3 separate regions of the Homo sapiens genome follow, and regions 1 and 2 are each linked to region 3. The links are contacts of gene promoters, found by promoter capture Hi-C in human tissues and cell types (Jung and others, 2019). All regions are on one chromosome and are shown on one strand. The core of a region is centred on a gene start or on the middle of the fragment in contact, and the rest is flanking DNA. Distances in the headings are between cores, read along the strand shown. Region 1 overlaps FIG4 (FIG4 phosphoinositide 5-phosphatase). Region 2 overlaps AK9 (adenylate kinase 9). Region 3 holds the start of GPR6 (G protein-coupled receptor 6).

Region 1 (4,164 bases), core at 260-2,759, 260 kb after region 3:
AACGAGGGGCAAAGTATAATTCTGGCGTACTTCTTGACACCAGTGATTTCTAGAAATCAGATTGGAGATTCAAATTCTAGCCAACCAAGAAAAATAACGGAAACTTTTAGATTTATGATAAAAATAATATATCACTAAAAACTGTAAGGATATTTCATGTCCTTTAAACAACAGGTATGAAAGTTTTTTTGCAGTCAGGTTTGGAGGATACTTACCCTGTCATCAATTATGACCAAATCTTTTGGTTCTGTTCTATCAATCTTCAAGACACGATATTTCGTTTCTGCATTATTGCTCCCAACTAGAAAGTATCTCTATAAATAAAAAGGAATGTCATTAGTTTATCAAAGCATTTTGCCCTATACACATTTTATACCACTTTAGTTTTTGAAATTAAATACATTAATAAAGTCAGGTTACTTTTTAAAGAAATATTTCTGTTATGTATAACTGGCAGATTAAAGAAAAGCTGACTCCAAAAGGTCAATTTTAAAATTAAAATATTCCTAGTGGTTTCATGATAAAGATCAGTCTGATGTCTGAAATGTGCCCAGTAACCAGGTCAGATGAATTTAATTGTCATAAATTTAGAGATTAATCTAACTGATTGGAGGCTGATGTTTAAGCTTTACCAGGAAGAAGCTCTGGTAAAAATTCTAAAGCTCAACATATAATTAGGAACGCTTAGGCAATTATAGCTACTAAAGTACTGACAGCTTATCAAAAAACTACTTACAAATTTTCATAAATGTCTGCAAATGTCTTTAATATAGTAACTATAAAATCTACCCAAAAGTCCCATAAATGATTAAAATGGTTGTCCTTCCCAAATGACCTTTTATAGATAAGCTACAAGAAATTATCATCATTCTTTCTTTCCTAAAACAGTTCCTTGGAGCGTTCTGACTAAACACAATCACATTAGTCTTATTAAATAAATACTGAAGGGGTGCTGGGCAAGATGGCTGACTAGAGGCAGCCAGGCGGAACAGCTGCCACCAAGGGACCAGGACAACTGGAGCACTCCTAACAGATCTTCAGAGGGAAGGCACTGAGAGTGGTGGAGGGAAGACACAGAAGCTGGGCTGAAGAGGGAAGAAGCTGGGAACCCTGCATGGGACTACCATGCACTGGCATTCATTCCTGGCCCCCAGTGACTCTGGGGGAATGGGTGAGTTGAACTGGTAAGGAGAAACTTACTCTCGCCAAGGCCTCTGGAATCCTGACAGAAGGAGACTCCCTGACCATCACAGACACTCGAGTTGGCAGGAAGAGCTGCTCAGAGAAGTGGTAGGGGCAACACGCTGGCTTATGCAGAGCCCAGAGGGTTTGGTATGGGAGCGTTTGTAGTGGAGCACAGCCAGGGACACTCATCCCCCTAGGGTTGACTTGTTCCCATAGGAGACTTTAGCCCTAGGGGAACTGTCGGACCTGAACTCTGCAGGGCGCTCTTGCCCATCAGACTGGACAGTCAACCTGAGCACCCCTTGGTCTGCTGACCTCTCTCCCAGGGCCCCAGCCCTGCTTGCAGGGAAGCCTTAGGTGTCCTGGGGGCCTGCATCAGAGACCCTGTGCTGGTGGACTGGCACCTGATTGGTGAAGAGCTCTAGTGGGGTGGCCCCCATGGCCACCCAGCAGCCCACCCTCTCCCTCCCTCCACTGCAGCTTCCCGCAGGCTCACTGCCACTTCCAACATCACTCTGCCAACATGTGTGTGCGCAGGTGGGTTTTGTCTTCCTTGCCCTACCAGTGCACGTGTGCGCATGTACCCTGTCCTGCCACTGCTGCAGTTGGGGGTGCAATCCACCTCCCTCCTTCAGCTGCACTGCCATTGCAGCTGGAGCCTTGGTGGGCACAGAGCCAGCCTGCCCCGTCCTCATCCCACCCCTGTGCCAATGCTGCCATGGGAATGAAACTATGCACAGAGGCCAGTGGACCTTCCCCAGCCCTCAGTGACCACCACTGCCTGCAGCACACAGAGAGTGTATATAGACCTGCACCTACCAGTGCCCTGCCCCTGTGCTAACAGGATCACCATGATGACTGCATGCACAGTCACCAGCAGGGCCTCCCCCGCCCCCTCAGCCATGCTGCCTCTGCTGCTGCTGTGAATGCCCACATGGAGGCAGGCACCTGCTGGCATCCTGCTGCAGCCACCATGCTTTCGCTGCCACTGGCACATGCGAATGAGGACATATCCCACCGCCACCGCACCATGAAATGCTTTGGCTGACACCACCCATCAAAGCATAGTGACCAGCAGTCACTACACGTTGGCACCCTCAGCGCATCGGATACCTAACCTCGAGGAGCCAGAGAACAAAGTCAGAGCCCAATACGAGTATTCCAGAGTTAGAGCACACAGTCCAGGAGTTGGCAGCTGAACGTTGGCCCCCTATAATCTTCCAGAAACAATACCTGTCGACTGAATCCACCTGATCCCACAATCGAACCCTTAAGGTCATCAAATAGGATAAAAGAAAAAAAGGCCATATAAAGGTCAACAGCTTCAAAGATTGAAGAAACATTAGCCCACAAAGATGAGAAAGAACCAGTGCAAGAACTCTGACAACTCAAAAAGCCAGAAGTGCCTTTTTTCCTCCAAAACAACTGCACTTTTCTCCAGCAAGGGTTCTGAACCTGGCTGAGATGGCTGACATGACAGAAATAGAATTCAGAATAGGAATAGAAATGAAGTTCATTGAGCTACAGGAATATGTTGAAACCCAATCCAAGGAAGCTAAAAATCATGATAAAACATGACAGACAAAATAGCCAGCATAGAGAACATTTCTGACCTGATAGAACTGAAAAACATACTACAAGAATTTCATAATGTAATCACAAGTACTAATAGCAGAACAGACCAAGCGGAGGAAAGAATCTCAGAGCTTGAAGACTGGCTTTCTGAAATAAGACAAGAATAGAGAAAAAAAAAGAATGAAAAGGTATGAACAAACCCTCTGAGTAATGTGGGATTATGTAAAGAGACTGACTCTACGACTCACTGGTATACCAGAAAGAGAATGGAACCAACTTGGAAAACATATTTCAGGATATCATCCATGAGAAATTCCCCAACCCATCTAAAGAAGCCAACATTCAAATTAAAGAAATGCAGAGAACCCCAGTCAGATACTCACTAGAAGATCATCCCCAAGGCACATTATCATCATATTCTCCAAGGCCAAATGAAAGAAACAATGTTAAAGGCAGCTAGAGAGAAAGGTCAGGTCACCTACAAAGGGAAGCCCATCAAACTAACAGTGGACCTCTCAGCTGAAGCCCTAAAAGCCAGAAGAGATTGGGGGCCAATATTCACCTTCTTGAAGAAAAGAATTTCCAACTCAGAATTTCATATGCAGCCAAACCAAGCTTCGTAAGCAAAGGAGAAATACATCCTTTTCAGACAAACATGCTGTGGGAATTTGTTACCACCAGAACTGCCTTGCAAGAGCTCCTGAAAGAAGCACTAAATACGGAAAGGAAAGACCATTCTCAGCCACTAGAAAAACACCCTGAAGTACACAGACCAATGACACTATAAAGCAACCACATAAACAAGTGTGCAAAATGACCGCTAACATCCTGATGATAGGTTCACACGTATCAATTCTAACCTTGAATGTAAATGGACTAAATACCCCATTTAAAAGGCACACAGTGGCAAACTGGATAAAGGACTAAGACCCATCAGTATGCTGTCTTCAACAGACCCATCTTACATGCAATGAAACCCACAGGCTCAAAATAAAGGGACAAAGTAAAATCTATCAAGCAAACGGGAAACAGAAAAAAGCAGGGGTTGCAATTCTAGTTTCTGACAAAACAGAGTTAAAACCAACAAAGCTTTAAAAAAAAAGACAAAGAATGGCATTACATAATGATAAAGGGTTCAATTCAACAAGAAGATATAACTATCCTAAATATATATGCACCCAACACAGGAACACTCAGATTAATAAAGCAAGTTTTTTGTTTTTTGTTTTTTTTGAGATGGAGTCTTGCTCTGTCGCCCAGCCTGGAGTGCAGTGGCGCAATCTCGGCTCACTGCAAGCTCCACCTGGGTTCATGCCATTCTCCTGCCTCAGCCTCCTGAGTAGCTGGGAATACAGGTGCCTGCCACCACGTCCAGCTAATTTTTTTTATTTTGTTTAGTAGAGA
Region 2 (3,922 bases), core at 181-2,680, 360 kb after region 3:
ACACACAAAAAATTGCCTCTCATGTATTCTTTGTCAGAAGCTACTAGAGGATGTAGTGCATCAAAATGGGGGCCTAAACCAAGATGGTGACATGGGATCCAGAAGCAAAAGGGCATCTATGCATCCCTGACAAGGAAGAGGGTTAGGAAATCCCAAGATGGTGGGGGAAGGAGAGCCCATGATGTCAGTTGTTCTGCAGGCCTGGAAGCCTAGAAAATAACCAATCCAGTTTGGGGTAGGAGAACAGAGGGGTCCAGAAGAGATAGCTCCAGGGAGATGATTACCTGATGTATTTTCAAGCAGAAATTTATACTTGTGAAGAAGAGTTTGGGAATTCATTATTGATAGGTATATAGAAAACTAAGCAACCCCCACAAAAAAAAAACCTGCAGGAACAGAAATATGAACATGTTCTACGTAATTGTGAGTAATTGTTCCATAAGCATAATAACATGAATAATGCATATTATTTTTTTAAAATGTATTATCTAATTCTTGGGGGCTTACGGAGGGATGTGGGAGAAGAAATGTGTGTGTGTGTGTGTGTGTGTGTGTGTGTGTGTGTGTGTGTCTAAGATTCCTAACTAGTTCATCATTTGGGGAAGAAAAAGTTTTATCCAGGTAATTTCAGATTATTTAAAGTGTAAATTAGAAGGAAAAAGGAAAAAAATTAAAAGGAAAGTAAAACTTTTGACAGCATACAGAGGAAAATACTGAGTATATATTTGCCATGTGTGTGTTTCTCATTTATTACTGCATAAAAAATTACCCTAACAGCTTGAAACAACAATAAGCGTTTATGATCTTGCATAGTCTCTCTGAGTCAGGAATTCAGGAGTGGCTTAGCTACATGGTTCTGTCCTAAATGCTTTCATGAGGTTACAGGTAAGATGTCATCTGGGGCTGCACTCATCTGACACTAGGCTGGGGCTGGAAGATGGCTCGATCACATGAATGAGACCTCAGTTCCTTTCTATGTAGATCTCTTCATAGGACTGCTTATGTGTCCTCATGACCTGGCAGCTGACTACCCTCAGAAAGAATTAATCAAGGAGGAAGCTATAATGTTTTTCATGACTTAGTCTTAAAAGTCATCCACTATCACTTGCATCGTACTCTATTTAAAGCAAGTCACTACTAAGTTCTAGTTACACTAAAGAGGAGAATTAGGCTCCACCTTCTGAAGGGAGGTGTGTCAAAAGATTTGTGGACTTATTTTAAACCCATCACATCATAATATGTGTCAGATAAAGGAATTATCATTTTAAAATATAAAAAGACAAATCAATATGCAGATAAAGCTTCAATAGGAAAAAAAAATCAAACAGGCAATTCACAGAATAATAGATACAAATAGCCATTAAACATTAGCAAAAGGATACCACCTCCCTGATAGAGAGATGCCAAAAAACAGAGACTTGTCATATCAATCTCATTGTAACAGTTAAAAGATTACTAAAAACACCTAATTTCGATGTGTACCTAGGATGGGAGAAGTACATTCTCATAGACTGCTAGTAAGAGTATAACCATTAGGCATAGAAATTGGAAATACATATGCAAACCTAAAGTCCATGCATATCCTTTGAACTGCCAATTCTGTTTTATGGATTTTTCTAAAGAAACTATCAAAGATATGTAGATAATTGTGTTCATCATAGCCTAGTTTATGTACCAAAAATGTATATACCAAAATATAGATAATATATAATATGTGTGTTATATATTATCTACATTTTATACATATTATCATATATCATATATGTATACATTATGTCTATAATACACATTATATATTATATACATATATTTTATGTCTATAATACACATATATACATATATAGCATACTATGCATATATTATATTAATATACAATATAATATGCAATTTAATATTAATATATTATTGTATTATCCTGATTTATAATAGTAATATAATATTAACACTATATTAATATATATTATATTAATATTATATTATACATTGATGTATAATATACTATAGTATACTATTATACAAATATATATTACATATTATTATATACATAGTATACTATACGATATAGTATGCTATATATACTATATATATGACTATAGTATATACATATACATATATGTACATGTATGTGTATGTATACATATGGAGACTCCTGATTCTTTTTCTTATAGGAATGTATATGTACATAATATATAATATAATATGTATATTATATATAATGTCTAAAATATATACAATATGTATATTATATATAATGTATAAAATATATAAAAATGTATATTATATAATGTATAAAATATATACAATATGTGTATTATATATAATGTATAAAATATATACAATATATAATACACATATATAGATAATATATAATACACATGTATTATCTATATTTTGATATATACATTTTTGCAACTATAAACTAGGCTATGATGAACAAAATTATGAACATATCTTTGACAGTTTTTTTTGTTTTTTTTTTTGTTTTTTTTGCTCTGGAATTTCTCTTTCTGTTTTTTTTTTGTTTTTTTTTTTTTTTTTTTAATTATACTTTAAGTTTTAGGGTACATGTGCACATTGTGCAGGTTAGTTACATATGTATACATGTGCCATGCTGGTGCGCTGCACCCACTAACTCATCATCTAGCATTAGGTATATCTCCCAATGCTATCCCTCCCCCATCCCCCCTCCCCACCACAGTCCCCAGAGTGTGATATTCCCCTTCCTGTGTCCATGTGATCTCATTGTTCAATTCCCACCTATGAGTGAGAATATGCGGTGTTTGGTTTTTTGTTCTTGCAATAGTTTACTGAGAATGATGGTTTCCAATTTCATCCATGTCCCTACAAAGGACATGAACTCATCATTTTTTATGGCTGCATAGTATTCCATGGTGTATATGTGCCACATTTTCTTAATCCAGTCTATCATTGTTGGACATTTGGGTTGGTTCCAAGTCTTTGCTATTGTGAATAATGCCGCAATAAACATACGTGTGCATGTGTCTTTATAGCAGCATGATTTATAGTCATTTGGGTATATACCCAGTAATGGGATGGCTGGGTCAAATGGTATTTCTAGTTCTAGATCCCTGAGGAATCGCCACACTGACTTCCACAATGGTTGAACTAGTTTACAGTCCCACCAACAGTGTAAAAGTGTTCCTATTTCTCCACATCCTCTCCAGCACCTGTTGTTTCCTGACTTTTTAATGATTGCCATTCTAACTGGTGTGAGATGATATCTCATAATGGTTTTGATTTGCATTTCTCTGATGGCCAGTGATGATGAGCATTTTTTCATGTGTTTTTTGGCTGCATAAATGTCTTCTTTTGAGAAGTGTCTGTTCATGTCCTTCACCCACTTTTTGATGGGGTTGTTTGTTTTTTTCTTGTAAATTTGTTTGAGTTCATTGTAGATCTTTGACAGTTTTTTAAGAAAAATCCATAAAACAGAATTGACAGTTCAAAGGATATGCATGGAATTTAGGCTTGCATATGTATTTCCAATTCCTATGCCTAATGGTTATGCTCTTATCAGCAAGTATATACATATATATGTATATGTTTGTATATGTATATATATGAATAGTATATATAGTATATGGTGTATATGTATATGTATGAATAGTATATATAGTATATGGTGTATATGTGTATACTATTATGTGTATATAGTATACCATACATATGTATTCATATTTTAGTTAAGTAAGTTGTAACATATTCATCTGATGCAATACTATGCATGTACTAAAAACTGAAGATGTGGATGAAGATTTATTGGCATGGAATAAAACAGTGTAAGCCTACCAAAAGAAAAGCAGAATGGGAATATAGGGATCTGTAAATATTAATTAAAGACACATAGAATCCTATTTTTAAGATCCCAATATTCTGTATTAAATCTATTATCTACCTGACA
Region 3 (3,982 bases), core at 1-2,500:
CCACGAGGAAGCCCACCGTGAGCAGACTCACAGTCTCCGAGGGCACCAAGTACTGGAACACAAAGTGCAAGATGAGGCCACAGCCCGCCAACAGGTCAGCGGTGGCCAGGCTGCCTACCAGCACGAACATGGGCGTGCGCAGCGCCGGAGTGGACGCGATGAGCGCCACCACCAGCGCGTTTTCTCCAGCGATCACTGTCCCCGACACGCACAGGAGCACGTCCCACGGATTCACCGCTGGCAGCAGGAGTCCCGGTGGCCCAGCCGACAGCTGCGAGGACAGCTCCAGAGACCCATTAGCTCCGCCGCCGGCTCCTAGAGCCGCCGCAGCAGGGGGTCCCCATTCGCCCGTGTCCGGCCCCCCTGCTGCTGTGGCCGCCGCCGCCGCTCCTTCGGCCGCCACTACCACCACCTGGGAGTCGTTGAGCGAGGCGGCGCTCGCGTTCATCGCGGCCGGATTTGCACCCTGCATAGGGAGGGAGTGCAGGCGTCAGGTGTACACTTCAGGCTGCCAGGAAACTTCCCCACGCGTAGAGCCTCCTCTCGCATTGCCCCACTTGAGTTGCCCACCCCACCCTGGGACCCCAGAGCAAATCGGGGAATCATGGGTTAAGTGCGAACCCAAAATAAATACCTGTTGAGTGAGTGAGTGAAATGCCCACGCGGACTTCTGAGTTTTTGCAGATATACACCAGGACAACATGCACTCACATGCACAAGGATCAATTCTCCAAGGCTGCCTGTATTTGCACACGCACCCGAGTGCACCAAGCTAGGAGTGTCATCCTGGGAGAGTCCCGCCTGGGTTGTGGCGGCGCGACCAGGACATCCCCATGGGGCTGGGCAGCAGAGACGCTGTCCGCGGTGCTGAAAGCGAAGTTTCTGGCATTGCGAAGCCTGGAGAGTCCTGGAGCCCAGAGACCCCTGCGAAGGGGGTCTGGGAGGAGAGACTAGGGTGTGTGTATGGGGGCAGCAGAGGGTGGGAGTCAAGGTTGGCTCCATTTCTCCTCTTCTGGAAAGACCTGTCCCCTGGATATCTTTCTCCCCTCCTCTCCCCACATCCTCAAAGTTCCCTGGGAACTCGGCCACTCACCTGGGGCGTCAGGACTTCTGGAAGTCGCTGGTCATGGGCGCCGAGGCGGGGCGCCGGGCTGAGCTCCCCGCGCAAACAGAGCAGCTGCCTGCAGGAGGCGGCCGGGCCGGGGAGGAGGCAAGCGCGGGGCGCCTGTCGCTGTGCCGGCTCCGCGAGTGAGAGATACAGTTGGTGGCAGAAAAGGCGGCTGCGAGCGGCGCGCGCTGCAGATTGACAGGCAGGGCGTGGTGACGTCAGGCTCCCGGCTCCCGGTGCGAGCCCAGCACTCACTCTCCTCGCCAGCCCATCCTGTGCCCTCCCCGCCGCACTCCCCCTGCCCCCAACACTATCTGAGGGTCCTAGGAGGGAGGAGAAGCCAGAGCAACCACCTCCAGTCCAGAACTTCCAGGAATGGGATGGGAGAGAGACAAGGAGAGGTAGAAAGGAGTGAAGAAGACCCTGAGACCAGGCGGCGAAGAGGGTGAGCTGGGAGGGGAGGGGTGAAGGATGAGTGACACCTGCCGGGCAGCAAAGCCCAGCGTCAAAGATCACTGAGGGATCAGGTCAAAAAAGAAACCCCGGAGAAGGGGGAGGTTGGGACAGGGGTGTTTGATGGGAAAGTAGCTACCTTTAAAAAAAAATGCCGTTCCCGAAACAGGAATTATCTGGGAAAAGAAATTCACTTTTTAAAAATTTTATTTATTTATTTATTGAGACAGAGTCTCACTCTGTCGCCCAGGCTGGAGTGTAGTCGCCCGATCTCGGCCCACTGCAACCTCTGTCTCCTGGGTTCTAGCGATTCTCCTGCCTCAGCCTCCCCAGTAGCTGGAATTACAGATGTACGCCACCACGCCCAGCTAATTTTTGTAGAGATGGGGTTTCGCCATGTTGGTCAGGCTGGTCTCGAACTCCTGACCTCGTGTGATCCACCCGCCTCGGCCTCCCAAAGTGCTGTTATTACAGGTGTGAGCCACCTCACCAGGCCTGAAATCCAATTTTTAAAAAGGATGTTTGTGGTACATGCTCAGTTGAGTAGAGTCAGGGAAGAAATTCTGAGTTATGGGGAGCAGTTAAAAGATGGATAAGACAGGGACATCTGAGGAAAACAATCTCTTCTTTTGGAGGTTGCCTGTGCAATTCCTCTCTTTCCCATTATCTTTTCTGAACTCTACACAGCAGGTTTCACTGTGACCTTTTCGGCCCATGTTTTCCCGATTTCGGTAGCTGATATCGCCCTTGGAACTTGCGCTTTAATTAAAGACCAGGTCTGCATCTTGCTAGAGAAAAGGAAAACAGCAAAATGTGATTTACTTTCTTGGCTTCAGACTTTGCCCTGTTAATTAGTACCCTATAAAACAAATTACAGGACGAAAATCGTGATAACTCAGCTGCACCAGACTTCAGTAGGCAGGAGTTTTATTTTCAGCCCAGATAAATCATCCTTTTGTTTTAAAGGTGTTTTGTTTTGTCAGTAAGATACGAATATTAGTCTTCTTATTCTCTTTCTTCTCCCAGAATGTGCAGTAGCTGTACCTGGGCAAGAGCTAAAATAGTTGATGCCATCTGAGGTTCTAAAATAGATGATTGCACATTGGCATGATGGCATTGCACAGAGGCCACAGCCATACTTTTCAGGGACCACATGGTCTGGGAAAAGTGAAAATTGGCAACATTTGTTGCTAGTGCTCCCCCTACTTCTCCCTGTGGACCCTTTCCTCCCTTCACTTTGCCTCTAGCTCCAAAGAGGGGAAAAAAGATATTCAGACTGTCCATGGGTTGGAGGATAAGTTTACCCTAGGTTGCTGCCTTTAAACATGACCCCCAAGTCCAGACTATTCCTGCCTCAATGCAGCCAACTTAATTACAAGAACAAGGGACATATGACAGTTCAATTATTTGGTGCAATAGCTGATGTTGGACAGAAAGTGAGTTTACACACAATTTATCCATTTGGAGAGCTTAAAAAAATCCACACACCACTATTTTCTTGAACCCAAAACTTGGCTGAAGTTCTAAATTTCTGAAAAGAGCCGTTTTGTGTTTCGGTACAAGATTGTCATCTAAGAGTCAAGAATGTTATTTCAGAGCTGTCAAGTGAGCCGTCAAACCACTGTAACAGCATGTTAACTGAGGATTTTCCAAATGATCAGATAAAAGCCCAAGGGGAGGAGAATCCTCCTTAATATCTAAGTATGTTCCATTTTCACATGCCACAATGTAGCAGAAAGTATGAGGTTAAAATTGAACCTACCACAGGATCTCTGAATATCCTTAGGCTTCAACATTACCAAGAATGGATTTCTCAGTGATTTCCAGAGGAAGACAACACATGTAGAATCATGTACATAAATGATGGTTGAGGATATGTAGACTGACTTTGAGTGATGCCAATCTGTGGTTACCTCTTTTGGATGCTAGACTAGGTCCTGGGCAGACAGAGCATGTTCTTTCAAACTCCTCCTTATCTCCCCTATATCCACCCATATTTTGGAAGGTAGAAGATGGGAAAGCAAAATATGTCTGTTTCATCAGTTATGGATGGAAATTAGATGGACTTCTTTACTTGCCTTGCCTATAGCTACTATATAAGCACCTGCCCTTCCAATGGTCTCCTAAAGTGTTCAGCCTGTAAACTACATGAAATTTTCCACACATACCCTAGTATATGGGAGGAGATTGACACCTCAACTGAAGCTAGATACGATCAGCCATCCTTTGCTGGGCTAGTGACCAGATCCTTTTCTGTTGAAAATTTGAACTAAGAAACACGTTAACAACGGTGAGTCAGTGTTGGGCTCTGGACATGAAAGACAGTGATAAATTAGAGCTGAACCACTTGTGTGTTGGACCTTGTGTGAAGTGTTTAATCAGAGAAAGCCAACTGCTCTGGAAGAATGAAGCAGATGTGTG

Evidence for each region. Contacts are between HindIII fragments. The study calls those that stand out against the background at their distance.
Region 1: a fragment that was not itself captured here is called in contact with the fragment with the promoter of GPR6 in region 3 in 2 of the 25 tissues and cell types used here (H1 embryonic stem cells and dorsolateral prefrontal cortex).
Region 2: a contact is called between a fragment that was not itself captured here and the fragment with the promoter of GPR6 in region 3, in 1 of the 25 tissues and cell types used here (spleen).

What each region holds. Positions count from the first base shown.
Region 1 is chr6:109,711,228-109,715,391 of GRCh38, reverse strand. FIG4 (FIG4 phosphoinositide 5-phosphatase) reads right to left here. Exons shown (of 23, transcript NM_014845.6): 2 at 216-314. Among named protein-coding and RNA genes, the nearest start is that of FIG4, 22 kb to the right of the region's middle. The HindIII fragment of the contact is 5,896 bases long and covers 1-4,164 here.
Region 2 is chr6:109,620,512-109,624,433 of GRCh38, reverse strand. All of the region lies in intron 12 of AK9 (adenylate kinase 9), which reads left to right. Among named protein-coding and RNA genes, the nearest start is that of AK9, 69 kb to the left of the region's middle. The HindIII fragment of the contact is 3,752 bases long and covers 1-3,306 here.
Region 3 is chr6:109,975,579-109,979,560 of GRCh38, reverse strand. GPR6 (G protein-coupled receptor 6) reads right to left here and starts at 1,250. Exons shown (of 2, transcript NM_005284.5): 1 at 1,094-1,250; 2 at 1-466. The coding sequence starts at 448. RefSeq lists an enhancer at 14-819 and a silencer at 758-921. The HindIII fragment of the contact is 14,463 bases long and covers 1-3,982 here.